Linked DNA regions of Homo sapiens: regions 2, 3, 4, 5, 6 and 7 are each linked to region 1. The links are contacts of gene promoters, found by promoter capture Hi-C in blood cells and fetal thymus (Javierre and others, 2016). All regions are on one chromosome and are shown on one strand. Each heading gives the region's core, a stretch centred on a gene start or on the middle of the fragment in contact. The rest is flanking DNA. Distances are from core to core; before and after follow the strand shown.

What was found. Contacts are between HindIII fragments. The CHiCAGO score rates a contact against its expected background, and 5 or more counts as called.
Region 2: a contact is called between the fragment with the promoter of NDUFAF4 here and the fragment with the promoter of POU3F2 in region 1, in 2 of 17 cell types (activated CD4 T cells and naive CD8 T cells). The highest score is 7.9, in activated CD4 T cells.
Region 3: a contact is called between the fragment with the promoter of KLHL32 here and the fragment with the promoter of POU3F2 in region 1, in 1 of 17 cell types (total B cells). The highest score is 7.7, in total B cells.
Region 4: a fragment that was not itself captured here is called in contact with the fragment with the promoter of POU3F2 in region 1 in 1 of 17 cell types (endothelial precursors); the score reaches 5.8 in endothelial precursors.
Region 5: a fragment that was not itself captured here is called in contact with the fragment with the promoter of POU3F2 in region 1 in 1 of 17 cell types (M2 macrophages); the score reaches 5.3 in M2 macrophages.
Region 6: a contact is called between a fragment that was not itself captured here and the fragment with the promoter of POU3F2 in region 1, in 1 of 17 cell types (total CD4 T cells). The highest score is 5.1, in total CD4 T cells.
Region 7: a contact is called between a fragment that was not itself captured here and the fragment with the promoter of POU3F2 in region 1, in 1 of 17 cell types (naive B cells). The highest score is 5.6, in naive B cells.

What each region holds. Positions count from the first base shown.
Region 1 is chr6:98,832,414-98,836,223 of GRCh38, reverse strand. It overlaps POU3F2 (POU class 3 homeobox 2), which reads right to left and starts at 1,650. Exons shown (of 1, transcript NM_005604.4): 1 at 1-1,650. The coding sequence starts at 1,350. The coding sequence ends at 19. RefSeq lists enhancers at 1-336, 337-933, 932-1,001 and a silencer at 1,640-1,709. The HindIII fragment of the contact is 14,703 bases long and covers 1-3,810 here.
Region 2 is chr6:96,895,892-96,899,701 of GRCh38, reverse strand. It overlaps NDUFAF4 (NADH:ubiquinone oxidoreductase complex assembly factor 4), which reads left to right and starts at 1,811. Exons shown (of 3, transcript NM_014165.4): 1 at 1,811-2,036; 2 at 2,855-2,958. The coding sequence starts at 1,901. It also overlaps a transcript of KLHL32 not described here. RefSeq lists an enhancer at 1,889-1,988. The HindIII fragment of the contact is 8,617 bases long and covers 1-3,810 here.
Region 3 is chr6:96,922,845-96,926,654 of GRCh38, reverse strand. KLHL32 (kelch like family member 32) reads right to left here and starts at 1,927. Exons shown (of 11, transcript NM_052904.4): 1 at 1,629-1,927. RefSeq lists a silencer at 1,891-2,200. The HindIII fragment of the contact is 7,655 bases long and covers 1-3,810 here.
Region 4 is chr6:97,056,651-97,060,460 of GRCh38, reverse strand. The region is part of intron 4 of KLHL32 (kelch like family member 32); the gene reads right to left. Among named protein-coding and RNA genes, the nearest start is that of KLHL32, 130 kb to the right of the region's middle. The HindIII fragment of the contact is 921 bases long and covers 1,296-2,216 here.
Region 5 is chr6:97,088,846-97,092,655 of GRCh38, reverse strand. All of the region lies in intron 6 of KLHL32 (kelch like family member 32), which reads right to left. Among named protein-coding and RNA genes, the nearest start is that of KLHL32, 170 kb to the right of the region's middle. The HindIII fragment of the contact is 5,387 bases long and covers 1-3,810 here.
Region 6 is chr6:97,144,474-97,148,283 of GRCh38, reverse strand. MMS22L (MMS22 like, DNA repair protein) reads left to right here. Exons shown (of 25, transcript NM_001350599.2): 25 at 1,397-3,810. The coding sequence ends at 1,478. Among named protein-coding and RNA genes, the nearest start is that of MMS22L, 140 kb to the left of the region's middle. The HindIII fragment of the contact is 2,556 bases long and covers 500-3,055 here.
Region 7 is chr6:97,166,366-97,170,175 of GRCh38, reverse strand. It overlaps MMS22L (MMS22 like, DNA repair protein), which reads left to right. Exons shown (of 25, transcript NM_001350599.2): 20 at 1,936-2,105. Among named protein-coding and RNA genes, the nearest start is that of MMS22L, 110 kb to the left of the region's middle. The HindIII fragment of the contact is 2,534 bases long and covers 919-3,452 here.

The DNA.
Region 1 (3,810 bases), core at 401-2,900:
CCCTCCCCCAGCTCGAGTTCACTGGACGGGCGTCTGCACCCCGTGGTGTGGTGGAGTGTCCCTACTCCCCCCGTACACATCCTCGGCGCCCGGCAGAGTCCCTCCGGGAGGGGTCATCCTTTTCTCTTTCTGTCTCCTGTTACAAAACCAAACTCTCACCACCTCCTTCTCCAGCTGTAAGCTGTCCGCGAGGGAGGTGATCTCCTGGGCCGAGGGCTTGGGGCATTTGAGGAAATGGCTCTCCAGAGCCCCCTTGACGCTCACCTCGATGGAGGTCCGCTTTTTCCGCTTGCGCCCTTGCGCTGCGATCTTGTCTATGCTCGTGGGGCTGCCCGAGGACGAGTCCGCCTCCTCCAACCACTTGTTCAACAAAGGCTTCAGCTTGCACATGTTCTTGAAGCTCAGCTGCAGGGCCTCAAACCTGCAGATGGTGGTCTGCGAGAACACGTTGCCATACAGGGTGCCCAGAGCCAGCCCCACGTCCGCTTGGGTAAATCCCAGTTTGATCCGCCGCTGCTTGAACTGCTTGGCGAACTGCTCCAGGTCGTCCGAGGTCGGCGTGTCCTCGTCCGAGTGCGGGTCGTGGTGCGCGCCTGGGTGGCCAGGCGGACCCTGCGGGGGCGGCGGGGGCGGCGGCTGCTGGTGTGGGTGCGAGTGCGGGTGCGGGTGGTGGTCGGCATGGTGTGGCTCGTCGTGCGCGTCCCGCAGGCCGTGGTGGTGCAGACCGGCCGGCTGCCCGCCGGCGCCCAGCATGCCGTTCACCGTGAAGCTGGGCTGCGAGTAGAGCAAGCCGCCGTTGGACGCTCCCATGGAGGGTGGGAGGTGCGCTGCAGCCGCCGCGCTCCGCCATGCCCCGGGTCCCGGGTGGTGGTTAGCGGCGTGGTGCACCAGATGCGGCGGCCGCTGTTGCTGCTGCTGCTGCTGCTGTTGCTGCTGTTGCTGCTGCTGTTGCTGTTGCTGCTGCTGATGCTGCTGCTGCAGGGCGCCTGGCCCGTGCAGCTCGTCTCCGCGGCCGCCCTGCTGCACCACCACCGAGGGCTTGATGTCCGGCTGGCCCAGGGGGCTGGTGGACCACGGGGAGCCGTCGCCGCCGCCCCCGCCGCCGCCCCCGCCCCCCCCGCCGCCGCCACCGCCCCCGCCGCCGCCGCCGTGGGACAGCGCGGTGATCCACTGGTGAGCGTGGCTGAGCGGGTGTCCGTTGCTCTGCAGAGCGCCGTAGTCGCCCTGCACCAGGCTCTGCGCTTCGCGGTAGCCCCCCGCGCCCTGCTGCATGCCGCCGGGCGGCTCGGCGTGCACGATGGAGGCGCTGGAGGTGAGCAGGCTGTAGTGGTTAGACGCTGCGGTCGCCATGACTCTCGGAGCCGGACTGAGCGCTCCGGTTAAAGGAGCCGCGCATTTGACAGTTACTTTTTCGCCTCGGGCTCCCTCTCCTCGCTCGCTCTTTCTGTCTCCTCTCTCTCCCACAGCGGGCAGCTCCGACGCCCGCTCCGACGCCTTCTGTTGCTGCTCCTGCTATTACTGCTGCTGCTGCCGCCGCCGCCGCCTCCCGCCCGCCCTCGCTCTCTTTCTCCTCCTCTCCCTCCTTCTCGCTCTCGCTCACTCTCTGACTAGCTCGGCGCTCCCCCCTCTCCCTGCTCTCTCCAGCTCTCTCCCGCTCTCTTGGCAGCGCCGGCTCGCAGCGGCACGCGCCTGGGCCCCGCCCCCTCCGCCCCCTCCCATTGGCTCCGCGCCCTTTGATTTACGTGGATACCGCTAGCAACCTCCCAGGCCGGCGCCACTGATTGGCGCAGAGCTACTCCCTCCCCCTCCCCCGGGCTCGGAGTCCTCCTAGCCCTCCTCCCCGTCCCCTTCGCCTCCCGATTCAGATTCTCTCAGTTCTCACCCCCCCGCTTCTTCCTCACCCGGGGCCTCCTCCGCCCTCTCTCGGATGGGCCCCGCCCCCCATCTGTCTCCCAGGCAGAGAAGACCGGCAGGGGGGCGGTCCCGGTGCTCTTATCGGCCACAGACACTTGGAAGACTTGGATTGGGGTGGGGGGCGGGAGGCAGTGGTGTCCACTTTCGTTTCCCAATAGGGCTTTAAGATGGGGAAACGGAGGGGGTAAGGGAAAAGCTGGGTCGCACCGAGCCAGCGGGAGTCGGATTTTTATTCACCTAGGGACACACACACAGTGTGTATCTCTTAAACCTAGAGCCAAGAGCCAGACCTGTTCCCCTGTTCAACTCTCCTTGCATCCCACGGTTAGAATTTCAGTGCACAAGTGTCTCTTGCTCCAGGGTGTGCGGACACTTCGGCCCAAAGCTCTTCTCCTTCCCCTCTACCCCGCGGCTAGCACAGGCTCTCTTCCTTTTAGGTTCCAGGCCCAATTGTCTCCCACTCCCTTGGGGAAAGAACCCCGAGAGAGGCAGGCTCAGCCCGCACCGCGGCTTGTAAGTCATTCCCATCAAGGCTCGGAGTTGCTTGCTCTGACAGCGTAGCGGTCTGAACTGAAAACCAAACAAAACTCTAAAAGTCTCTCCGTCAGATTCACACGCCGGCGCGTGCAGTTTTTGGTTTAGAAAACTAGAAGCCTGCGTGGGCTCCGTCTTGTGCGAGGCTGCCGGAGTGCTGGCGAGGGGTGTGCGGCCTTGTAGGGGCGGCGCAGTCGCCAAAGGCCGCTCCGGGAAGCCGCGCGGAGGGCCTGCGTGCGCGATTCCCCGTGCTCCTACCGCTGGTAGGTGCAACTTTTCCGTTAGCCCCTTGGGAAGGAGGAAGAGTGTGTGAAGCAAATGGGCTGATGCCAGGGGAACCTTCCTAATCAGTAACTTCGGTGGGCGCTAGCGGGTGGGGTTAGTCTATGTCTTTGGCGCTCCCTGGCCAAGCTCCCAGCTCAGCTTTCAGCAGTGAACTCCAGAGCAAGACTATGGGACCATGCACCCGCAGCGCCGCTCTACGGAGCGCGGGCGCGTCGCGCCATCAGTTCTTTAGCCGCCCAGAGCAGGTGCCGCCTGCGAGTTTCCGAGCCTGCAAGCCCGGTAGCTAGAACTTGGGCGCGGACCCAGGCTGGAGCGGCGTGACCGCCACGCAGGGCCGGGTGTGTACATGGGCGCTGTAAAGCGAATCAACAGTTACTGCCGGGAAGGGAATGACAGACCCCAGGGAACCTGGATCGCGTCCCCACCTCTCACCCCTCGCTCTATCGCTGGTTTTGCCGGCGGTCGTAGGCTTGAGAGGGCAGCCAAATCAACGCTCAGAGGGAGCATTTTGGGGCCTCTGAGCATCTGAATCCAGACAGCAGACTGGAGCGGGCCAGAAAATTCATCATGACTAACAAGGAGTCATGCTCTTTGGAGAGTGGCTGAGCTGTTTATAAATCACCACGTTGAGCACCCGCCCGGGCAAGACGCTTTGGCTGAGAATTTCCACGTGTCCTGTGTTTATGAGCGTGTGTGGGGGAGAGAAATGGATAGGGGAGGGGCGAGCCCACAGGCCGCCAGCAGGACGGACCTGCACCCCCACCACGCGCGCACCCGCGCGGCGAGGCGAGGCGAGGACACACACAGCGTGTCGCTCCGTCCCAGCGCAAGCGCGGGGCCACTCTGGCCGCGCGCCTGGGGGCTGCTAGGAATCCCATAACTTTGTCTAGCTAGGAAAAAATGAACAAGTCCGAGCCTCAGCGCGCAGACTCAGCGACTGGTGCCCGCGGCTCCGCAACCGCGAGCCAAGGGGCTGGGTGGCGGGCAGAACCGCCTTCTCCCGGCTTCGGCCCTGCGTCCCCTGTGCTAGGCGCGTGACTTTCCCTGGGCCTTGGGGAGCGCACAGACAGCCCGCCA
Region 2 (3,810 bases), core at 562-3,061, 1.9 Mb after region 1:
CCCAAAGGGTGACAGCCAATTGTGAGTTTCTGATGGAGTGCATCTGCCTTCTGTTTTGCAATTTGAGGGCCTGAGCAGCACTGGGCCAGGATCAGGCAAAGCAGCTGACACATGCTGGAAGCTCTTTCAATGTTGAATCCAAGCTCTATTGGAATGTGTGAATTCAAATAATTATTTCATATTGTAATCCCTACTGTCCTGACAGTCACTTCTAACATTACTTTTTCATACTGCCCGAAGTTCGGTGGAATTTCTATGAAAATGAGATTTTCACTTTTAAAATATTTTAACAGGCAGTGAGTCGAATTGCTACCATGATTAAAGCACATAGACATAATGAGGCAGATTAAAATTTCTTAGCACCCATAGAAATAGAAATACCGTGCCTAAAAAGCCCTGAATCACAAGCATGCTTAAAAGTATCAAAGATAGAAATCTTGGAGCAGCCTGCCACCTTCAGGATAACTTCCCAGTTAATGCTATCTGAGATCACTGATTTCAGCTTCTATAAATTCCAAATACCAATCCCTGTAAAAATGTTCAGTATAATTAAATAAAGGGCATTTAAATTAGAGTGGCTGAAGCCGTCTTCCTTGCAGTGCTTTTGCTCTGATTAAGCATTATACTTAATGATTACATTAGTTTTCTTTTTAAAAAACTTTCCCTTTCTTCATTTTGGTTCTTTGATTCTTGTTTTATTATTATTATTCTATTCGATTATCTTTACATCAATATTTTCTTACTTTAAGCTGGTTAAAAACATCCACTCTACTTCATTTTGCTAAGCAGAGATCAGAACACTAAAAATAGATTTTGCAGCCACAGTAAGAGAAATACTGTAACTTCCTTCCTACTGCTTCCTTCCTGGTGGGTTTTATTTTAGATTAATAACAATATTTCTAAAGGGTCTTAAATAAAAGCAGCACTACAGTAACCCATTCAGGAAATGGAGAGAGACGGAGAAGGTGAATGTAACACTCGTTTTTTTGTTTGTTTGTTTTTTTTTTCTGACGTCTTATTGTCTGTTCCTTTCATTAAATTACACAGAGGCTTAAAAAGAATGAAGAAGGCAAGAGAGAAGAGAAATAGGAGAGGGAATGACTCAGCATTTAGTAGCATGGAGAAGTAAATTAGTAGCAAAAATAAGATAAGGGAAAGTATAACTAAAATCGATACCATTAGGTCAAATGAGAACGGGATGTAAAAAATAATGGAAAAAGAATACAGTGGCTTGAAAATGCATCAGGCGGGGGGACAGGAAAATAAGAGGCATTTAAATGAGAGCGGCTGAGAACAAATACTCATCGAAAGGGAACATCCTTTCATTATTTTCCTTTCACAAAAGCAGGAAAGGGCAACTTGAGAGCCCAGTTTGACCCTGGTTCAGTAAGTTCCATTTTTATCGGCTAACTCTTTGGTGGCATTGCCCTGTGAAACAACTTCAAGGTCAACTTCCTTACGACTTTGATTTTCAGCTCTTCACTGAAACTTTGGAATCACGTGGAGTCTTATCCAATGCTGGGCCTCACTCCACAAGAATTAAATCAGAAAGTCTGGGGTAGGGCCCGGCACAGAACTTTACAGAGCTTCCCGGGTGACTCCCTCGGAGTTCCAGCGTTAAAAGCAACCGTGGGTCTGGGGACTTAAGCCCCGCCACCTCCCGCCGGAAGCGGCCCTCGTGGGAGCCGTCACTCGCCCCGAAGGGAGGGGCTCCCTTTTAAATGCCCTGGGCAGAGAAGCGGTGTGTGGCCTCCCGAGCGCTAGGGGGCGACGGGCACGCATTTAAGCGCCCGCGGCGGGGCTTCCCCTCACTTGTGCGCATGCTCCGGGTGTCCCGGAGTTGTCCTGCGCCGGTGTTCCCACGTGCGGCCTGAACCTGAGCGCATAATGTTATGAGGAGATGGGAGCACTAGTGATTCGCGGTATCAGGAATTTCAACCTAGAGAACCGAGCGGAACGGGAAATCAGCAAGATGAAGCCCTCTGTCGCTCCCAGACACCCCTCTACCAACAGCCTCCTGCGAGAGCAGATTAGTCGTGAGTGGTGCGAGGGCGTTTCGGGGCCCGGGGGCGCGGAGTCCCTGTGCTGCCCGGCTGTCCCTAGCGTGGGTCCGGAGGCCGAGGGATCGGCGTCAGCCTGCTCGGCCGCAGCCGCTCGGGTTGGCGGAGCGTTGGAAGGGGGAGCCGCCAGGCCGGTGACATTGAGACTGTCCTCCGCGCCCGCGGTGAGGTCGGCGGCCCCGCCTACTTCCGAGACCCAGAGGCAGCAGCCAGTGCTCCCGCTAACCAGGCCCTCGCCGGCTGCTGTCACGGACTTGATACAGGGAATCAAAATCCGAGAGGGTCACAGAGCTTTCTCTAGGGGTCTTCACTGGACGATGGACGCAGAGCCTGACCTGGAATTTTGATTTCCATCTAAAGTATTTTCCTAACAGTCCAAATGATTATGTTTATTTTTTAAAAAAATTAAAGTGGTTAGGCCGGGCGCGGTAGCTCAAGCCTGTAATCTCAGCACTTTGGGAGGCCGAGGCGGGCAGATCACCTGAGGTCAGGAGTTCGAGACCAGCCTGGCCAACATGGCTAAACCCCGTCTCTACAAACAATGCAAAAATTAGCCGGGCGTGGTGGCGCGCCTGTAGCCTCAGCTTGTCGGGAGGCTGAGGTGGGAGAATCTCTCGAACCCGGGAGGCGGAGGTTGCAGGGAGCCGAGATCGCGCGACTGCACTCCAGTCTGGGCAACAGAGCGAGACTCCGACTCAAAAAAGAAAATAAAAGAAAGCGTTTGTGTTAAGCGTTTAGGATATTACAGGAAATTTTCCTTGATTTTAATATTGTGACTTTTTTCCTTTCCTTAGTCTATCCAGAAGTTAAAGGAGAGATTGCTCGTAAAGATGAAAAGCTGCTGTCGTTTCTAAAAGATGTGTATGTTGATTCCAAAGATCCTGTGTCTTCCTTGCAGGTAAATGTGTGTTTAATTAAGTGAATACACAATTTACTTATTTTGGGGCTTCAGGAAAATGATTAAGTGTGGCAAGTAGTAAAAAGAGTGCTCTGCAAGTGTGTGTTGTGATCAATCTACACGCCTTGGCAAAGTTTAAGCACACTGGTGTAAGACAGCAAGACACTTATGCCTTGGTTCACTGGATATTTACCAGAATTCTAAAATAACTTGTGGAAGTATTGATACAAGCAACTGTGTGAATTATTTCATAGTATTTCAGAATTTGTAGGATTTGGTAAGGCATTACTTCCAGTGGTTGTCATTTGAGTGACAAAAGCAGAGCTTTAATATTATTTTCTCATTCTTCTGTGGATTGAGGTATGTTCTAATCTCAGAGACTCCTTTAGTAAGTGGTGTTGTTGGATTTTGTGGGGTGTTCCTGTTTGTTTTTTTAAGGATGTATTCAGATAGGATATTTAAAATTAGAAGGATCAAAGAATACATTAGGAATGGGAACCTATGTGTAAATCCATATTCTGTATTATGTAAGTCCTGGGCACAAGTGCTTTGTATATAGTGATGAACAAAACTAGTCCTTATTTTCACAGGGCCTATGATGTTGTGAAGGACACAGCCATTAAACAAATGAGCAACAATGTGACCATAATTATGGGAAAAGTACGTGCACTGCTGAGTATATTGGAGGGACCTCTTTGAAATGGGAGGATCAAGGATGGTTTCTGAGGAAGTGATAGTTATGTTCAGGCCTGAGGAGGGATCAGTTGGAGTTAACCAGATGAGTTTTTGGGGGCAGGAAGATTCTAGTTAGGGGTAAAGTTTGATTAAAGGCCAAGGAAGTGCCAACAACTT
Region 3 (3,810 bases), core at 678-3,177, 1.9 Mb after region 1:
GGCCTGCTCCACTCCTTTATCTCACTTGTCAGATCCCTGCACACATCTGAAACGCACACACAACTTTTTTTTAAAGGCAAGGAGACTGGATCCAGAAAGGGCTTCCCCATTCACTAGCTGTGACCTTCAGCAAGGTTTGAGTCTTGGGTTCCTCAGCTTTAAATGGAAGGTAATTTATTGGCCTCAAAGGGTTGTTGTGAGGATTAAAAAAGAAGTATATGAAAAGTGCTTTCTACACTGTAATGTAAAATGTTTGTCATCATTCATCTCCCAAAGCTCTGTGAATTGCATAAATCCCCTCTATCTACCTCTGTCATTATTTGGCTTACTTGCTCCTCACATTATTTATTACACTCTCTATGACAGAGTTTAAAATCTAAATTAGAAGAATTTGACTTATTTCCTTGGGTCATTTAACAAGAAGTAGAAAAGATGAACAAATATCCAAGGAAAACAAAATTAATTCTTGAATGCCAGTGGATCTTTACTGGGCCATTTGTTTGTGATGGAGGCATGAAATTCGTGCAAAGTGTAATTACTGGATTGCTGATGCCTTCAAGTACTGTGTTACAAGTTCACCCAATAGACACCCGAGACCTCAAAATAAAACAAAACTGACAGCCCAGGTATTAGGCTGACCTGTTCCATTGGCCTATCAGTGTTCCAGTAGAGGACCCAGTCCCATCAGAAAAAAAACAAAAAGCAAAAACCACTGCACTTTCATATAAGCTCTAGTAAGCCATGGCACACATTTTATATCTATCTCTATCTGTGTATAGAGATAGATCTAAAAATAATCAATAAGAGATTTTTTAAAAAACAGAATCTTCTCAGAAATGAGCAGAGGTGCAAAAAACTGCGCTTCAATACTGATGCAGGGGATATAAAAATGCTAGCAAAGATGTATGTCATGAATGCTACCTTCTTACGTTACGAATTCACAAACGTATTCCTGTTCTGGTCAATTTACAATAGAAGCTCATTCTTGTGTGGGGAAACACAATTAAATCATCTGCTTTTAATTTAAAATAATCACGACTAAGTGAACTGCAAAATAAAACTGGAAATAGAGGGGAAGAAGGGATCTAAACTGCAGTCATCTTTCTTTATAAGATCACCAAAATGGGAGTAAATTATGATTCAAGACACAATCCGTTGAAAAATTCATCTGACGAATCCTTTTTAAAGCATACCATATAGTGCAATTACGGCTTTTCTTGAAGTTGAATGAAACCGCCACCTGAATACAGATTAACAAATGCCAAATTACGAAAGGTCCTCAGTGTATATTTTATTTTAAATATCAAAATAAATAACGGCATCATTTAAGAAACCAGTTCTTTCAATAGATGTCCCACGGCTGATGTTTAAGCAAGTCTCCTTGGCAACCAAGGAGCACAGTACATATTGGGCTCAGGGGGAGGGAAGAAAGGGGGAGCGACTCCAGGGCTGGCAGCATAAGTAACCTGAGTAGTGGCTGCTCCCGTTAGACGACACGGGCAGAGGCTGCATGGGCTGCAAGCCCCTGAAATGTCAACTCCGGGTCTGCCCCCACTTGGCGCACCAGCAGCCTCCCACCCTCTTCCTCAGGTCTGCAGAACAGGTTACAAGGAGAGAGACTGGCTTACCCGATGGGGTGAGCGGTCTGCTGGGTTAGGTGCCAGAGACGGCAGCGCAGGCACCGGCCTCTCCTTGATGCACAATGGCTCTGCTTCGCCCCACGATGCTGAGGTTAACAGAACCCGCAGTAGCTTCGCTCTGCTGGTTCGGGGATGCAGTAGCGAAGACGAGCGTCCTAGCGTGTTTGTGTGTGCGAAAGTGTGTGTGTGTGTGTGTGTGTGTGTGTGTGTGTGCCTGCGTGCGTGTGTGCGCGCGACTGCCTGCGCGCTCCCGAACTGTCGCGCGGGGAAACTGCTCCCTAGTAAATAAAAAGCCCTAGCCAGCACTGCAGGTGGCACGTCCCGCTGACTCCGCCCCAGGCGGTCGCGTCAGACTGGAGACGCACCTTGGCACCCCCGGGGCGGGTTCAGACGCCACAGGGCTCCGCCCCCTCCCGCCTCCAGCTAGCCCGCGCGCTCCCTCCCCCTCCCCCGCGATCCCGCGCACATCCTTTCGCCACCCCGCGCGCAACGCCACCGCCCGCCGCCAGCGCGCTCGCTCCCCTGCCGCCCCCCGCCCCCGCCCCCGCCGTCGGCGAGCTGCCAGCGCGCGCCCGCCGGTCCCGGAAGTACCCTCCTCCACGCCGCCCTCCTCCTCGCTCTCCGGCACCTGCGTCGCCGGCCCCTGGGTCACATGCGCAGTCTGTAGCCACCACTGCGGCGACTGAGACCCGGGAACCCAGCCTGCTCGCCCCCAGACTCCTTTCCCAGGGCTGGCGGGCAATCTGAGCAAACAGACCCCGTGGCCCTAACTCGGTGTTCCAGGGAGTCCTTGCTCTGCTAACTTGTGAAGTTCAAGTTGCCTCTAGTCCTAGCGGCCCTACAGTGGCCCTCCTTAGGATAATACACTCTATGGTACTGACCAGAACAAATTCACAGTAACTTTAAGAAACGTCAGGGGAACCAACCCGCCAGAGGTGGACGAAATCCCCAAGCCTGAGAAATGAGAAAGGGTGTGATTACTGTGGTTACTACTAATTCAGCAATAAAACCGCAAACAGACAACAACCACAGAACCATACCATTAAATTCCAGGGCCTGGCACACTCAAGTGCCACTTCCGAGTCATTCAGGTCACTCCTGTGTAAAACATGCTGAGAAACTCACACTAAAGCAAAGTGGGTAATTTTAATAGGTAAGTATTCCACCACCGAATTGAAAACCTTAGTCCAACGTGGAGGTAAGACACCAGAAGCAGGAAGAGTGTAACTAAATTGGAGTAAACTGTATTTTGTAGAAGTTCAGGATTTAACTTACTGCAAAGATAGTATGTTAATCCTATTTCTTGCAGGTTTATGTTCTGCCACAGAGTTGGGCTAGGAACAGTGCCCTGATCTATTTTGAGGTGTCCTTAATGTTCTCATTGGTCTCAAATCAGTGGTTCAGCGATTATTTTCTACTTCTAGATCCACAGGATTTGGGGGTTTATTCGTTTGCTCCCTCTGGAGGTTATCTGTCTGGCTTGTAGTGCTTCATTTTCATGGTTTTGATATCTGGACGCTAGGATGCTGGGTACCTACTTATCTAGCAGTCCTGGACACAGCATAGGACAAGGGAAAGAATGACAAACAACTGACTACAAACATTAGGTGCAGTGTCATCCTAAGAATTTTTCATAAGCAACTTGATAGTTTTCATTGCGTTGTCTTCTATCAGAAAATCGAATATGAAAGCGTCTTTGAACCAAAAATATTGACAGTGACTGGTATCAATAAATAAAACAGTCCTTTAAGATCCCCAAGGTGTTTGTCACTAAAGTGAGAATACTTAAAATTTTAAGCCCATCTATATTGATTGGATTATCTGTTTAGAATAAATAGCAGCTATTTATTTAGTATAATTAAATAGAGCAAAGACTATAATTGCATTTACACAGGAAAAGAATATTTACACCACCAACTCACCATCTGTGTGACTATGGAAGAGTCTCTTACTGCCCAAGCTGAGTGTCTCAGGGTATCTCCTGGCCCTAGCACAATGTCTGCCACATAGTATCGGCTCACTAAATATTGTTCATTGACACATGGCGTTGAGGTTTAAATGGTAAATGCCTAGTAAAATGTCTAGTTCAGAGAGGGCAAGATTTTCCTAAATGGCTCCTTAGTATTGATTTAAAGTTTATATTTTGTCTTAAGTATTTTATTTCTCTAAA
Region 4 (3,810 bases), core at 507-3,006, 1.8 Mb after region 1:
GAGCTGGGACTGAGCGGTGGGAGTAGGGACACCCCACAGTCCCCAGGGCATCCCTGCCCCTCCTTCTTCAGCTCATCCTCCTGGATCATCAGATGTCCACTCTCTCAATTCTGTCTTCTTTTTCTCTTTATTTTCCCTCTCCCTTATACCTAGCCTCTTGGATTGGTGGCTGGTAGGGACTGTCTTTAACAGCCATGGTAAGTCTCAGTGTGACCTTTTTTTTTCTCCTGCCTGTGATCAAGTGAGTTGGCATCTTCAGAAAATTTTGTATCTTCAGATCTTCAAAGCTATCTTCTTCATTTCTTGCATAAGGAGATTTTTTAATTACCTGCTTCTTGGTCTATGTGTACAGTGGACTGAAGGATTTGAGCATGTTAAAATCAGACAACTAAGGTCTTTAGTAAACACACATACCATGTGTGCACATGAACAACACGCTTTTGCAAGCAAAACAAGCGCTTGTACAACTGCAAATTAGAGTGGTCTAATACCATTTATGAGAATAAATGATTACATTTCCTCCCTTCTTTATAGTTTGTTTCTTTGGTATTTTTTTTTTCCTGTATAGTATTACAGAATGGCAAATTATCAGAATCTTGAATTTATAATCATCAAATGAACTGGATACAACAGCATAAATAGCTGTTAAATGATCATATATTCAACACACATAAAATGTTTTGCATAAAGTTATTTATGACAGAATTCTCACAGATGGAACATGAAACACAAGATCTATCTAGCTATGAGAAATTTCTACCAATCTAGTTTTAGTTTCAAAACCACTGCACTAAGGACTTTTTATCCACAAGGTGGCAGCCATTTAAAGGAAAAGAATTTTCTAAATTGACTCATGCACTGCACATCTATATCTGACATCTGAAGTTTATTTTTAAGAAAGAAAAACATAGTTCAGGTAAGGATAATAAAACACATGAATTCCAGTTTCTAAATGTTGTGATCATATTGGGAAATGTTCATAAATATGCCTGTTGAAGTGCTCCATCTGAGCAATACTGGCTAGAATTCAGTAGTTCTCTATGAATCAGAGAATTCAAACTTTTGAGGCTTGTATTTGGAAAACCTCACCATGTAGCCCCAACCTGCTGTTAAAAACTTTTCTCCAGTTTTATGACCTTCTGGTCCCTTTGCTAAAGCCAGTAATCTACTAGTCTCCACACTCAGGCAATACCTTGTTCTCCATCTTCAATGTCCTCCTCATTCCTTTAATTTCCATATGTCAAAATCCTACTCATTTCAAGATCCAACTCTAAATCCACTCCTTATACAAAGCTTGGCAAGATCTCTCCCCACCCCTACCTCATCCTGGGTCTCCACAGACATCTGGTGAACTAATAAGCCCATGTGTTCTAGGTCACGCTGTCTGCTTTCAAATCCTGGCTCCTACACTTGCTGACAGAATCAACTTGGGAGAACAGCTCAACTCCAGGTGCCTCAGTGTTCTTATTTGTACAGTGAAAATAATGATGTCTACCTCAAAAACTGTTTTAAGGACCAAAAGAATGCTTGTGTATCATTACAATTGTGTGTGTCTATATGTAACAAAGCAGCTTAAACAAATATAAGGGTTACTTTTCCAATAACATTTGGATTAGGCCACTTAGAGTGGCAACCAGCCTCCTTGTATTTTCCTGCTTGGCAAATCTCAGGCTGTGGTTTCATGGTCTCAAATTGGCTGCCATACCACCAGGCATTATGTCTACATTCAAAGCAGAAAGAAAGGAGAGGTCAAAGAACAAAAAACATTTGCCAGCTGAGTCTGGCATTGTTTATCAGAAAAACAATAGATTTCTTACAAACACTGTTACAGAGACTTCCATTTACATCTCATTGGCTGGGTGGCTACACATAGCTGTAAAAGAGCCTGGGAAATTAAATTTTTATGGCTAGATGCACCATAGTCCCAAATCAAATTAGAGTTCTATATAAAGAAAAAAGAGGAAATGAATATTGGTAGGCAATCAGGGCATTAGCCATGGGACTTAGCACATATATATATGAGGAAAACTACAAAACTCTGATGAGAGAAATCAAAGAAAAACTAAATAAATGGAAAGATGGCCCATGTCTGTGGATAAAAAGGACTCCATATTGTCAAGATGTCAGTTCTTCCCAACTCAATTTATAGATTCAATGTAATCTTATTCAAAATCCCACAGTTATTTTTTGTGTATTAACAAACAGATTCTAAAGCTTATATGAAGAAGCAAAAGACCCAAAATAGCCAACACGATGTTGAAGGAGAACAAAGTTGGAGGACTGACAATACCCGCTTCAAGACTAAAAAAAACTACAGTTATCAAGACAGTGTGACATTGGCAAAAGAAGAGAGAAACAGATCAATGGAACAGAACAGAGAGCTCAGAAACAGACTCACATAAATATGGTCAATGAAAGAGCATAGATAATATTATAGATAATATAATAATAATGGATAAAAGATAGTCTTTTCAAGAATGGGGCTAGATTAATTGGACACTCACATACAAAAATTGAACCTGGACACAGCTCTCAAATCCTTCACAAAAATAAACTCAAAACGGATTACAGATGTAGATGTAAAATGCAAAACTAGAAAACTCTTACAAGGTAACATAGGAGAAGATCTAGATAACTTTGGGTATGACAATGACTCTTTAGATACAGCACCAAAAACATGGTCCATGAAAGACATAATTGACAACTTGGACTTTTTTAAAATTAAAAACTTCTGCTCCACAAAATACACTATTAGGAAATTGAGAAGACAAGCCATAGGCTAAGAGAAAATATTTGCAACAGATACATCTGCTAAAGGAATGTTATCCAAAATATCAAAAAACAAGATCTTAACACTCAACAATGAAAAAAATGAACCATCTGATTTTTTGAAATGGGGGCGGGAGGGGGGTGTAAAAGATCTGAGCGGATACCTCACCAAAGAAGACAGGTGGCAAATAAGCATATAAAAAGATACTCGGCCGGGCGCGGTGGCTCACGCCTGTAATCCCAGCACTTTGGGAGGCCGAGACGGGCGGATCACGAGGTCAGGAGATCGAGACCATCCTGGCTAACACAGTGAAACCCCGTCTCTACTAAAAATACAAAAATTAGCCGGGCATGGTGGCGCGTGCCTGTAGTCCCAGCTACACAGGAGGCTGAGGCAGGAGAATGGCGTGAACCCGGGAGGCGGAGCTTGCAGTGAGTCGAGATCGCGCCACTGCACTCCAGCCTGGGCGACAGAGCGAAACTCCGTCTCAAAAAAAAAAAAAAAAAAAAAAAAAAAAAGATACTCACATAGGAAAACTGCATTTTTTGTACATATTTTGTTAGATTTACGCCTGTTTAATTTTTGGGGTATTAATTTCTAAAAATAGTTTTAACTTTTTAAAACAGTCCCCCAAACCCAAAAGATGAATAATATGTTGTGATACATGAAAATTATATGAAATTCAAATTTAAGTATAAATAGAGTTTTATTATAACATAGCTATGCTTATTCATTTACATATTTGTCTCTGGCAGTTTTCATGCTACAACAGCTAAGTTGAGTAGTTGCGAAATAAACTTTATTTACTTTTTAAAATAGAGACAGGGTCTTGCTATGTTGCCCAGCCTGGTGTCGAGCTCCGGGGCTCAAACGATCTTTCTGCTTTGGCCTCCCAAAGTGCTGAGACTATGGTCGTGACCCACTGCACCCAGCTGTGACAGAAACTTTATATGGCCTGAATTATTTACTGAATTATTTTTGGCTCCTCACAAAAAAAGTTTGCTGATCCTTGGTCTAGAGTATAGGTAGGGGCTGGGAGT
Region 5 (3,810 bases), core at 698-3,197, 1.7 Mb after region 1:
TGAAATAGCAGTGTTACTCTGTGTCCAGCTAGGGGCCCCTCAAAGGATAAAACATCCTCTGGGCAAAACATTATTTGGGATGCAAAGGAGCCACTGTTTATTCTCTTCACTAACATCTAAGAAGAAGGAAATGGAGATACCCTCATCACATTTGTAGAAAAAAACTGTATGTAGTTGGGAGAAACTATAAAAAGTTTCAGAAAGAAAATTAAGAAGTGGTACAAATTTGTAAGTTGGGACCACATGTACGAATTTGATGAGTTTAAGAAATGGTAACTTTAAAAAATAGGAGATATTATGAAGATACCCAGAAAGTAGCTATCTGGGAAAATAATAGTAACAACACATGCATGTATGAAAGAGAATTGGCCGGGCACGGTGGCTCACGCCTGTAATCCCAGCACTTTGGGAGGCCGAGGCAGGTGGATCACGAGGTCAGGAGATCGAGACCATCCTGGCTAACGTGGTGAAACCCTGTCTCTACTAAAAATACAAAAAAATTAGCCAGGTGTGTGGCACATGCCTGTAATCCCAGCTACTTGGGAGGCGGAGGCTGGAGAATCACTTGAACTCGGGAGGCGGAGGTTGCGGTGAGCTGAGATCGTGCCATTGCACTCCAGCCTGAGCAACAAGAGTGAAACTCCATCTCAACAACAACAAAAAAAAAAAAAAAAGAAAGAAAGAGAATTGAAGAAGGGCAGGAACATGATGAAAAATTATAATTTTGTTTGAGGATAAGAGTTCTTAGTATTTTATTCTATTTCTAGTTACCAAGGTCCAAATATTAAAACATGAACACAGCTTGTAGAATTTTTTGATTAAATGTTTACCCACAGCCTGATTTGTTTGAGGCTTGGACTGTATCACATGGATTGACAAAGGTTTGCGAAGCTGTTTAGAGGGTGCATACAACTATCGAGAGTTAACAATAAGCAAAGCATTGAACAAAAGGCGAAGGGTCACTGGTTGGTATTGAAACATCCAGTCAAAAGCATGTCATCTCCATTGTACCCATATCATTTCAACGTGCCCCAACTTGGCAAAGAAATCATTATGCTATTTGGCACAGGTCAGTCCCCACTGGGAAGGCATTGGGCAGGTGGGAAAGAGCAGCAAGCGGAAAGCCCCACATCAGACACTGTCAGGCCCATGACAGCAGGACCCTGTTGGTGCTTCCCATTACTGACTACCCAGCACCCATCATATGGCAGGCAATAGTAGTACCCCACAGGACATGGCTGGGTAGAGCAGGCACTCAATAACTATTTGGAATGAATGAAAGAATGAATGAGGCATATGTCATCTAACAGAATTAGAATTAGCAACATGACACAGACACGGAGGCAGGCACAGAGGCCATGATTTGTTCAATCCATGGGCACTACCCAAGGGAACTAGAATGGTCATGCTCTTTTTTCTGTTTCGTTTTGTTTTGTTTTTTTTCTTCCAGACAGGGTCTCGCTCTATTGCCCAGGCTGGAGAGCAGTGGTGCAATCACGGCACACTGCAGCCTCAACTTCTTGGGCTCAGGTGAACCTGCCCTTTGGGTAGCTGGAACTACAGGTGCATGCCACAATGCCTAGCTAATATTTTCGTAGAGACAGGGGTCTCACTATGTTGCACAGGCTGGTCTCAAACTTCTGGGCTCAAGCGATCAGCCTGCCTCAACCTCCCAATGTGCTAGGATTACAGGCGTAAGCCACTGTGCCCAGCTAATCAAGCCCTTCTTAATTCCTGTTAAAGTCATAGGATTAATTGGATGCACCTCTGTGCCCATCGCCTGAGTATTTCTGAGCTTCTATTACAAATTTAGAAGCTATAGACCAAAGTAGACATAGCTCAAGAATTAGAAGACATGAGTTTGATTCCTAGATATGTAACCTCAGTTTTCCCTTTTGTACTACAGGAGAACAAAGCAATAATAAATGAAGATGCATTTTCAAAACTGTGATGTGATATTCAAATTGGAAGTATTTTAATAGTATTGTTTGACATCTAGTACTATTTAAATTCCTTGCTTCTTCCTGGCCAGAGGTACATTTGGGTCAATTTATCATCGAAGGATAAAAGATGAAAGCTGAGTACATCACCAGTGTCTTCTACTTTCCAACTGTAAAGGGATAGTAGCTTTTTGTTTGGGTTCACTTCTGGGACTCCTTTTGAAGAAAATGATTAATTCAAACTGTAACGTGGCTGATTCTGTGGTATACATAAAAGCCCAGGAGGAGCGTGTCAAAAAAACCACTGCATTTGAGATTGTTGACTAAACAATATGTGGCTTATGTCTCTCAAGATATAAAATGAATGTGTTATTAAGAGTATGACTTAGGGAAGCAAATTTCCAACAAAAATATAAGGAAAAATGCAGTCTTTAAAAGGCCAAACTCATTTTCTATATCAATTTTCTTAGAATAAATCCAGCCTAATGTAGGAATAGTAGGATGTCTTATTATCCATTCAATACATTTTAATATGGAAACTCTACATTGTTGTTTTTATTTATTATTAATAGAGTGCAAGCAGTAGGTAATGCAAACACTACAGCACAGCCTCTGCCTCTAGGGATGGATAATCACGGACAAATATGAACAGGATTGCCCCAGCCCCAAATCAGGTGACATGGTCCCTCTTTGCCACACTAAAATAGGACATAACTTGGGTTTATGCAATTACTTTTGCACCAACCTAATAGAATAAAGGAAACCCTCCCTGCTGAGGTCTTACCTTGTTTGACGCCACTCACATAGCCAGCAAATTTTTTGGTCTTAATATCTACTTAAGTCCAGGCAAAGTCAGACTCAGAATACAAGTAGGAAGTGTCCTCAACCCCCAGGTTAATGAAGTAAGAAAAGTACTGTTCTTTTTTTTTTTTTTTTTAGCTGGAGTTTCATTCTATCATCCCAGCTGGAGTGTAGTGGCGCAATCTCCACTCGCTGCAACCTCTGCCTCTCGCTTCAACTGATTCTCCTATCTCAGCCTCCAGGCCTCAGCTGGGATTACAGGTGCCTGCCACCACACCTGGCTAATTTTTGTATTTTTAGTGGAGATGGGGTTTCACTATGTTGGGCAGGCTGGTTTCAAATTCCTGACCTCAAGTGATCTGCCCGCCTCAGCCTCCCAAACTGTTGGGATTACAGGCGTAAGCCACCGCGCCTACCCAGAAAAGGACTGTTCTTACAAAATAATAAGTTCTCACTAAAAGTAAGAAACAGTTAATACATTAATAATTAAAGGAAAACAAAACTTCCCACTCAGAGATAAAGGTGAAATAAATTTCCTTAACCTAACTACTGAATATTTTTGTAAAGCATTTTACCCCAGAATCTAGCTCCCAACACTATGCCTAGCATGTAACAGGTGGTCAAGAAATATTCATTTTTATTTCCACAAGCTGTTTTCTTTCATTTTTAAATATCCTTCTTGTTTCTGCTACTTTGGAGATAAAATAAAAATTCAGAGAGCTGTACTTATGGTTTAAAATCAGGAGGATTCTCTCCATTTGGGAGGAGGCCTGGAAGAGGGAAATGGAGTTGGCAGATCTGTCCTCTGCCTTCTTTCCACTCTAGCATAATTTTGGGTATTTAGTAGGTGCTCAGTACATACTGATGGGTGGAGAGCCATACTTTCTCCCTATGCTAGTGTGTATAAGAATTGATGTTATATTTTTCTATATAGGCTTTTTCTACAAATTGTACTTCCATGGAAAACAGTAATCTCCCTCTTACTCTGGTGAAAGAGAACCTAAAGGCAGAAGAGGCAGGAAATGCATGTTCCTGAAAAGAAAACAGAGCTTACTCAGCACTTCCTATG
Region 6 (3,810 bases), core at 528-3,027, 1.7 Mb after region 1:
TAAACCAGTAACATTCTTTCTTATTATCAAGTATTATATACTATGTATAGTTGTGTGTGCTAGACTTTTATATGACTGACAGTACAATAGGTTTGTTTATACCTGCATCACCACAAACAACACGAGTAAGGCATTACACTAAGACATTACAATGGCTACAACATCACCAGGCATTAGGAATTTTTCAGTACCATTATAATCTTAATGGGATCCATCATTGACCAAAATGCAGCCCATCATTGACCAAAATGTTTTTAATGTAGTGCATGACTATAATCATATGCATGTGTGTCTGTTTATCTGTACAAATACACACTCTAATGAATATGCATATTCCAATTTTTAGACAAAAATTTTTTATTAAACAATATATGAGATCTTTCTTGAAGACATGACTATGTTGATTATAGCTTTAGCTAACTAATGGAATCCATTTTTTCAATGCCATTTCATATAAAAGGCAGGGGGTGCGGACTGGAGAGATCATCCTTGTAAAGCTTTTGTATGCCAGAATGGAACATCTCCTTTCTTCTGCATGGTGACTTGGCTAGCCTCCTGTGGTTTTCTAAGGAGAGAAGATTGAATCACTTCAAATTGTAGCTTGAAGAAATGGTGTTTATTGTCATGTCACAAAACAAGCTCATGCACAGACATGTCTCACATCTGGCTTCTCTGAGCAGTCTTCAAATTTGAGTGAAAAAACTAGAGAGGCTGTGTGTGAACCACCCTAATGCAGTATGTTGTTAAAACAAATATTCTGGCCTACTACCTTGTGTGGTTATGCAGGCCCATAAGAAGTTTGGTTCTAAAGATTCTGAACAGAACAGGTATTTAGACTAGTGAGATAACTACTAGGCACAATAAATCATCTAAAACACCTTCCAAATACAGGGAAGTACTAGAGAATGTAGGAGGAGAAACAATATTTTATTTTCAAACTTTGTTACTTATAAGAAGTTAAAAGAAGAAAATGGGATATATACTGAAATTGCTACACAGGTCTATTTTATGGTTACAGAATTTTTGTTTTAATACTTACGCTTGTGATACAAGTCTTCCCATTGTAATCATACCATCATTGTCCTTAAATAATATTCCATGAATGCATTTTATTACCCGTGAGCATTATAATATTTCGGAAGGTTAATGAACTTTTACATGTCATTTTTAGCACACATTTTATATATAAAAATCATACTTTAATACATCTTAACATCTAGGTTTACTCACAATAGATATAAAGCATTACTTTTTAAGAAGTGTTGTGCTAAGCCTGCTGGATGGATGGCTGAATAGATGGATGGATGGATGATGGGCAGACTTAATTTGTAAATACTGAAATGAAAAATAATGAAAATGTTAATATATTTGCTTTCTTTTCTTTTTTCTTAAACAGGGAAGCCTATAGCAAACTTTTGTCTCACCTTGGACAGATGGGACAAGATGAGATGCAGAGACTGGAAAATGATAATACTTAATATATTTTGTGATTCATCCTGTCTATTAATTATCAGTATCTAAAGCCACATTGTTCCACTCTAATTCCTACTTTTAATTAATTGTATAATGTTCTGTTTAAAATAATTTCTAGGATTTTTTTTCCTTTTATATCTGTAAGTAAAAAATGTATAAATAAGGAACTGAAGGTTAATTAGCAACTGTGTAATAGGATCCTTGGAACTTTTTACAAAACTGCATTCTACCTTGATGAAATTTTAGTTAAACTAAATTAAAGAAACATTTTCTGAGAGTGTTTTCTGTGTGTGAGTATTAAGCAGATACTTCATCCATAGACTTTTTGTTGTAGTATGACTTCCTGCCTCCCTGCCTTGTGACTGATTTGTCATGTTTATTTTTTATTTTTACAATAATAGTTATGTTTTAAAATGATACTTTTTCAAAGTACCTGGCTACCCTATACTGTGTTTTTGGTGGGGGAAAGGTGTTGGGAAATGTGACTGTGTATTTGTTTTTCTTTTTTATATGTGTGAGGCAAGTTAACAAAGAAAACCCTTACAAAGCACACTTAACTGTGTTAGGAATGAGACTGAATCTGGCTAAAGGATTATACAGCTGATATCCAAAAAGAAGTGTAAACATGCCAACAGGGTTTATATTTAGGTTCCAAGAGTTGCCAAATTTTTTTTTTATTCATCCTTTCTTTTGGAGTTGTCATTAAAAAAAAAATCATATCAGGAGGAGGAAATAAAGGAGACTTTAAGAGGAGAGTAAATAAAAATATTCTAGAAAAGTAACAATAGTAGTGGTCTGAGAAGTCAGCTGATCCATCTTCTTGCTCTTTAGCCAGAGCTTCTTATAACTTAGCATTTTATCCAAGAAACCTGTTTAGTTTCCTTTAACAACATTGTTTCTCAACTTTTGAACTCTTAACTCATCCAGATTGTTTTACCAGTTGGAGCTTGTCCTTGACTCCTTTTCCTATTGAGCATTATTTGGTTGAAAGAGCTCCAGTCCTAGTTTTGGGAACCCACCTGGGTCTCAAACTCAGCTTTGCTTTATGATCTTGAGCTAGTTACGTAACCTTTCTCAGTCTAGTTTCTTCATGGAGAAGAAAAGAAGAATCCCTTTACTATTTGACAGTGTTGTTGTGAGAATCAATGGGATAATGTACGTGAAAATATTTGGTGGCCCAAATTCTGTTGGGAAATGTACAGACACGATTAGTTTATTACTCGTGCACAATTAAGGCAAAGAACACCTCTCAATTTTATCTTTCTCTAATGATATGTCCCAGATGAATGATCCCACTTTCCAATGTTTTCTTACATCATGTTTTCTAACTTTGAAGTACTTTGTTTCCTTCTTGGGATTATAGTCTTTATCATGGTTCTACTCTTCCTTCAAGAAAACATTTCAACCCTTCTCTGGCTCAAGGAGTATCTTTAAAAATGAAATACTTTGCAATCAGTATTCTGTAGTTAATAGCGTTCTCTTAATTATAATCTGTGAAATCCAAAGGAGTGTCTGTTATTTTCATAACATATAAATGGTCCTTCTCTCAAATCAGCTTCATCAAAGGGAATAAATGAAAGCTTAAGGCTGTTTAATAGACTTCATAACACTGAATTTCTTTTCATCATGATAGTGACTTACTAAACAAATAATGTATGGCTTGGAAAGTTCCAGCAGTCACTAAGGAGTTTTATCTATTTAAGGTGATGCCTTTAAAGAGGTTATTTATGTGTATATGTGTTTTTGTGTGTGTGTGTGTGTGTGTGTGTGTGTGTGTGTGTGTGTGGGTTTTTTTTTTCCAAAGGAGATTGATAAAGATACCTTTGAGAATCTTGCTCCTTAGAGTATGAAAACGTTTAAAGGATAGGAAAAGCTGCTACTGAATCATGCTTTAGGACATATATCTATAGATACTAAGAATAACTAAAATTTGTACTTAAGAATGGTAACAACAAAGTGTGTAACAATATGTGTGTGTATTATATGTTTTGTATTTATGTATAAGTAACTTTTTTTAAAGCTTTTTTTTAAATTGAAAAAAGAAGAAAATTTATGGCTCAGTTCCTTTTTTTTAAAATCTTCACTGATCCTTCACTTATTACTACAATCTTGCCCTCTTTCATTCCCAGACTTGGAGTCCCTTATACCTGCTTCTTTAATAGCCACTTTCCCTAAATACCCTGTAATTTCTGAGGCTGCTGCTTCTACCAGTGTAATACAAGCCATTGTCTTTTGGTCAAATCTGAGTTTGTTCTCCTTTCTCATGTTCTTTGTCCTCTCTGTGACAATTGTATTTTCTTTTATCTTCCCATCATTTCCACAATGGTACTGCTCCTT
Region 7 (3,810 bases), core at 936-3,435, 1.7 Mb after region 1:
CTGAAACCGCAGATAGTACCAATCCTATGTATGCTGTGTTTTTGCCTATACATACATACTTATGATAAGGTTTAATTCATAAATAAGGCACATAAGAGTTTAACATAATAACTAATAATAGTATTAATAGAACAGTTGTGACAATAGACTCTAATAAAAGTTATGTGAACTTTGTGTCTCTCTCTGACTGCCTTCCCCACCCCCTCGTCAAAATATCTTATTGGTATCCTATACCACGGGCAACTAAACTATACCACGTGGTACCCTATATCACCGGTAACTAAACTATACCATGTGGTACCCTATAGCACGGGTAACTAAAACTGTAGAAAGTGAAACATACCTGTATTGCACCTGAGAGTAATAAGAATCATTTCATATGCCAGTGATGATAGCAGTTCCCCTTACAGGTATATTAATGTTTTTAGAATATAAGTTCTTCTAATATTGCTGTCATACTGAAATTCTCCACCAACTGAAGAAATGAGGAGCAAGCCAGCATTATTTAAAACTTTGCTAAGTGAACATTGTTTCTTTATGATTGATTATTGTACTTCCTTTTACAACAAAAGATGAATGTTGCTGTTTGTTCTTAAAAGTGATAATTTGTTGAGTTTTTTTCTTTAACATCAGTATACTTTTCCATAAGCATATTTTGGTTTTCCTTCAGAGCTTAAATTTTAAACTCTTTATTTGATGGAAATGACTTTGAATTTTATCGTTTTTGCTTTCTAGGATGGAATAAAATATAAAAGTTTATGCAGTAGATGTACCACTGTGCTTTTTGGATAAGCATTTAATCTGTTTTTAAATTCATTTTTCAGTAAGGAGACCTCAATAGTAATAATATATCCTAATGGGAATTATATATCTGCTCTTAATTACTTTATTAAACAAAGGGTGCTCATTTGTTAAGCTTTATTATCATCAGATGTGGCAATTAACAGACTTCTAGCACCAAGGAAGCCATAATATATTTCAAGTAGCAAAGAAATCTGTTTCTCTTCATTCAGAATTAAAATTTTGTTTGTTTATATTAAATAATGGAAAGGTGTAAAAACTGAAGTTCATGGAGGTTAACTGAAGTTGGTGGAGGTTAAGTGATTAGCTTATAGCTAATCCTGCTTTCCATGTATTAACAATTAAATTTAATTATACTTCTGTTGCAAACTGGATTGAGGCCACTTACATGTAAGATTAAAATATGAAGAAATAGGGGTACCAACAAATAAATATAGAGTTTCATGGTGAGGCCCAGGGAAAATTAGTATGCATATAAAACCATAATGTATAATCCTACAGTATTCTTTAAAAGGTGGATTGTTAATTTGCATTTGGGCATCCTAGCAACTCAGAGGGAAAGCAGAAAGGGAAATCCTGAATAATTTCAACATTCAGCCAATGTAGTCACATAATGTATAAATATATTCCACTGTATGTGTGAGTGTAAACAGGTTGACTAGCCCTTGTCTAAAATTCTTGGGACTAGAAGTATTTTGGAGTTCAGATTTTTTTGGATTTTGGAATACTTGTAGTATACTTAACCAGTTGAGCACCCCTAATCCAACAGTGTGAAATTTGAAATGGTCTAATGAGCATTTCTTTTGATCATCATGTTGGCACTCACAAACTTTTGGATTTTGGAGCGTTTCAGATTTTATATTTTCAGATTAGGGATACTTAACCAGTGTATATATTAAATGCCAGTTGCTCGGAAAATGTATGTTTTCCTTGGCCCAAAACTCTATGAAAAATTTGTCTCTTTAGTGAAATATATGAATTGACATAAATATTTGTTACTTCTACTATATGTCTCTTCCTATTCCCTACTTTAATTTGGTCCCATGTGCTTTCAATACAAATTTTTAAATTAAGTGACAAAATGTTCTGGTCAGAGGATAACAACAACATGCTGTTACTTCTCTTCTTTGTTAGGAATTCTTGTGAAATCATGGGCACAAATCTTTGCCACTTCTAAAGCCCAAAAATTACTATTCCGGATCATAGATTGTTTACTGCTGCCACATGCAGTATTACAGCAAGAGAAGGAACTGCCTGCACCTATGTTGTCAGCAATTCAGAAAAGTCTTCCTTTGTATCTCCAGGTATAGTATCTGTGGTTGCTTAAAAGTTTAAAAAAAAAATATTGAAACTTTGCCTTAAAAACATAGTTTACTAAATGCAGATTTAAAAACTGTACATTATAATCTCAAATGCTTGTGTGGCACATTTATTGAACATATTTTAAATTGCTTTTATGTTTGGCTTTGGAAACAAAAATGAAAAAGCAGAGGAGCTTAAAGTTGAGAGAGGAGGTAGATGAGCACAGACACTTATGGTAGTGTGCTCAGTATTTTTTTTTTCAGACCTCATCTATTAGACTATGGGTGAGGAGATATAAGAGAATACACTGTAGAGGACATCAGAGGTAAAAGAGCAAAATGGGTAGGAGTTGGAGGGCTTTTCATTTCAGAGGGAGCAACATGTACAAGGGCATGAGCTTTAAGAAAATATAGAATGGTTCTGTTGTGGCTGGAGAGTCATATGGGAGGAGCCATGTAATGGAGGGCTTTATATTCCATCCTAAGAAGTTTGGACTTAATCTTTTACATGGGGACCTGATGAATTTGGAGCAGAGAAGTAGAAGTGACATAATGATATTTACATTTTAGAAAGATGATTCTGGTGGTCATATGTAAGATAATTGGTGTGGAGGTTTTGGAAAGCAGTGGTAACTAGTTCCTTGTAATAATCCACATATTGTCAGAAGGTTTTGACCTAAGGCAGTGGGAATAAAACCCATAACAGCAGATTTCAAAAACATTTGGGAGCTGTGATTAAGAGTACTTGCTAATTGAGTGTTGTGGAGGAACTCAAAGAAGTGAAATGCTTCCTAGATTCCAGAGTGGCTATCTGCGTAGATAGTAGTTCTACTTACTAACGTGGGAAATCCTGGAGATGTCGGGATGAAGGTAAGGATTGGTTTCTGAGCAGCTTTAGTTTGAGGTAGGCAGTTGGAAATATTGATCTGCCATTCAGGAAAGGATGAGACTGGAGGTGTACTTTATTATTCATTAGTGTCTGATGTTAAAGATAAGTGCTTCTTAATTTGAGGTCCAACAAGGGAAGCTGAGGAGGAAAGGGAAAATGGATTTTGATTATGTAACAATCTTTTTTCAAAGATGTATTTCTTAACAGAGTTTTAAGATTCCTGAGAAGTTTTAAATTTTCCCTCTAATTTTTATTCATAATAGCATTTAAAATGAAGTTTAGTGTGTTAATCTAGCAGAATGACAAAAAGGGGAGGCAGCCACACCACAGCCTGAACCGCCAATCCCACAGAGGGAGAGATGAATAGAGGGGAGTGGTGAGCAGCAGGAGAGTCTGGAATATTTCTTCCATGTGGTCCTCTTAAACCCAAACAGTCCATTTAATAAGAATTCTCTTAAGCTTCGTAAGTGGTAAATTTAAAAGTTTGGTGTATTATCTGTTTGGTAGAACTGGAGCTATGTCTTTAATTTCTTCATGGTACCCAGCTCTCCTCTTCGGAATTTTCAGAAAATATTCATTTATTACTTCATCTTCTTCTGATTTAATGTGCTTTTCCTTAAACTACTCAAGAAACAGAGTTGGTGGTGGCGGGTGGGTTGGGGGAGGGGTTCATTGTTTGATTTTTTTCAGTTGTTTATTTGGTACAGTTTTAACAGCTGTATGCTATTTTTCATTACAAATAAACTTTCAGAATTTCTTATTGGGTAAGTACCCGTTTACAACTAAAATGGAGACTTCAAACATTTTAAATTATTTCTC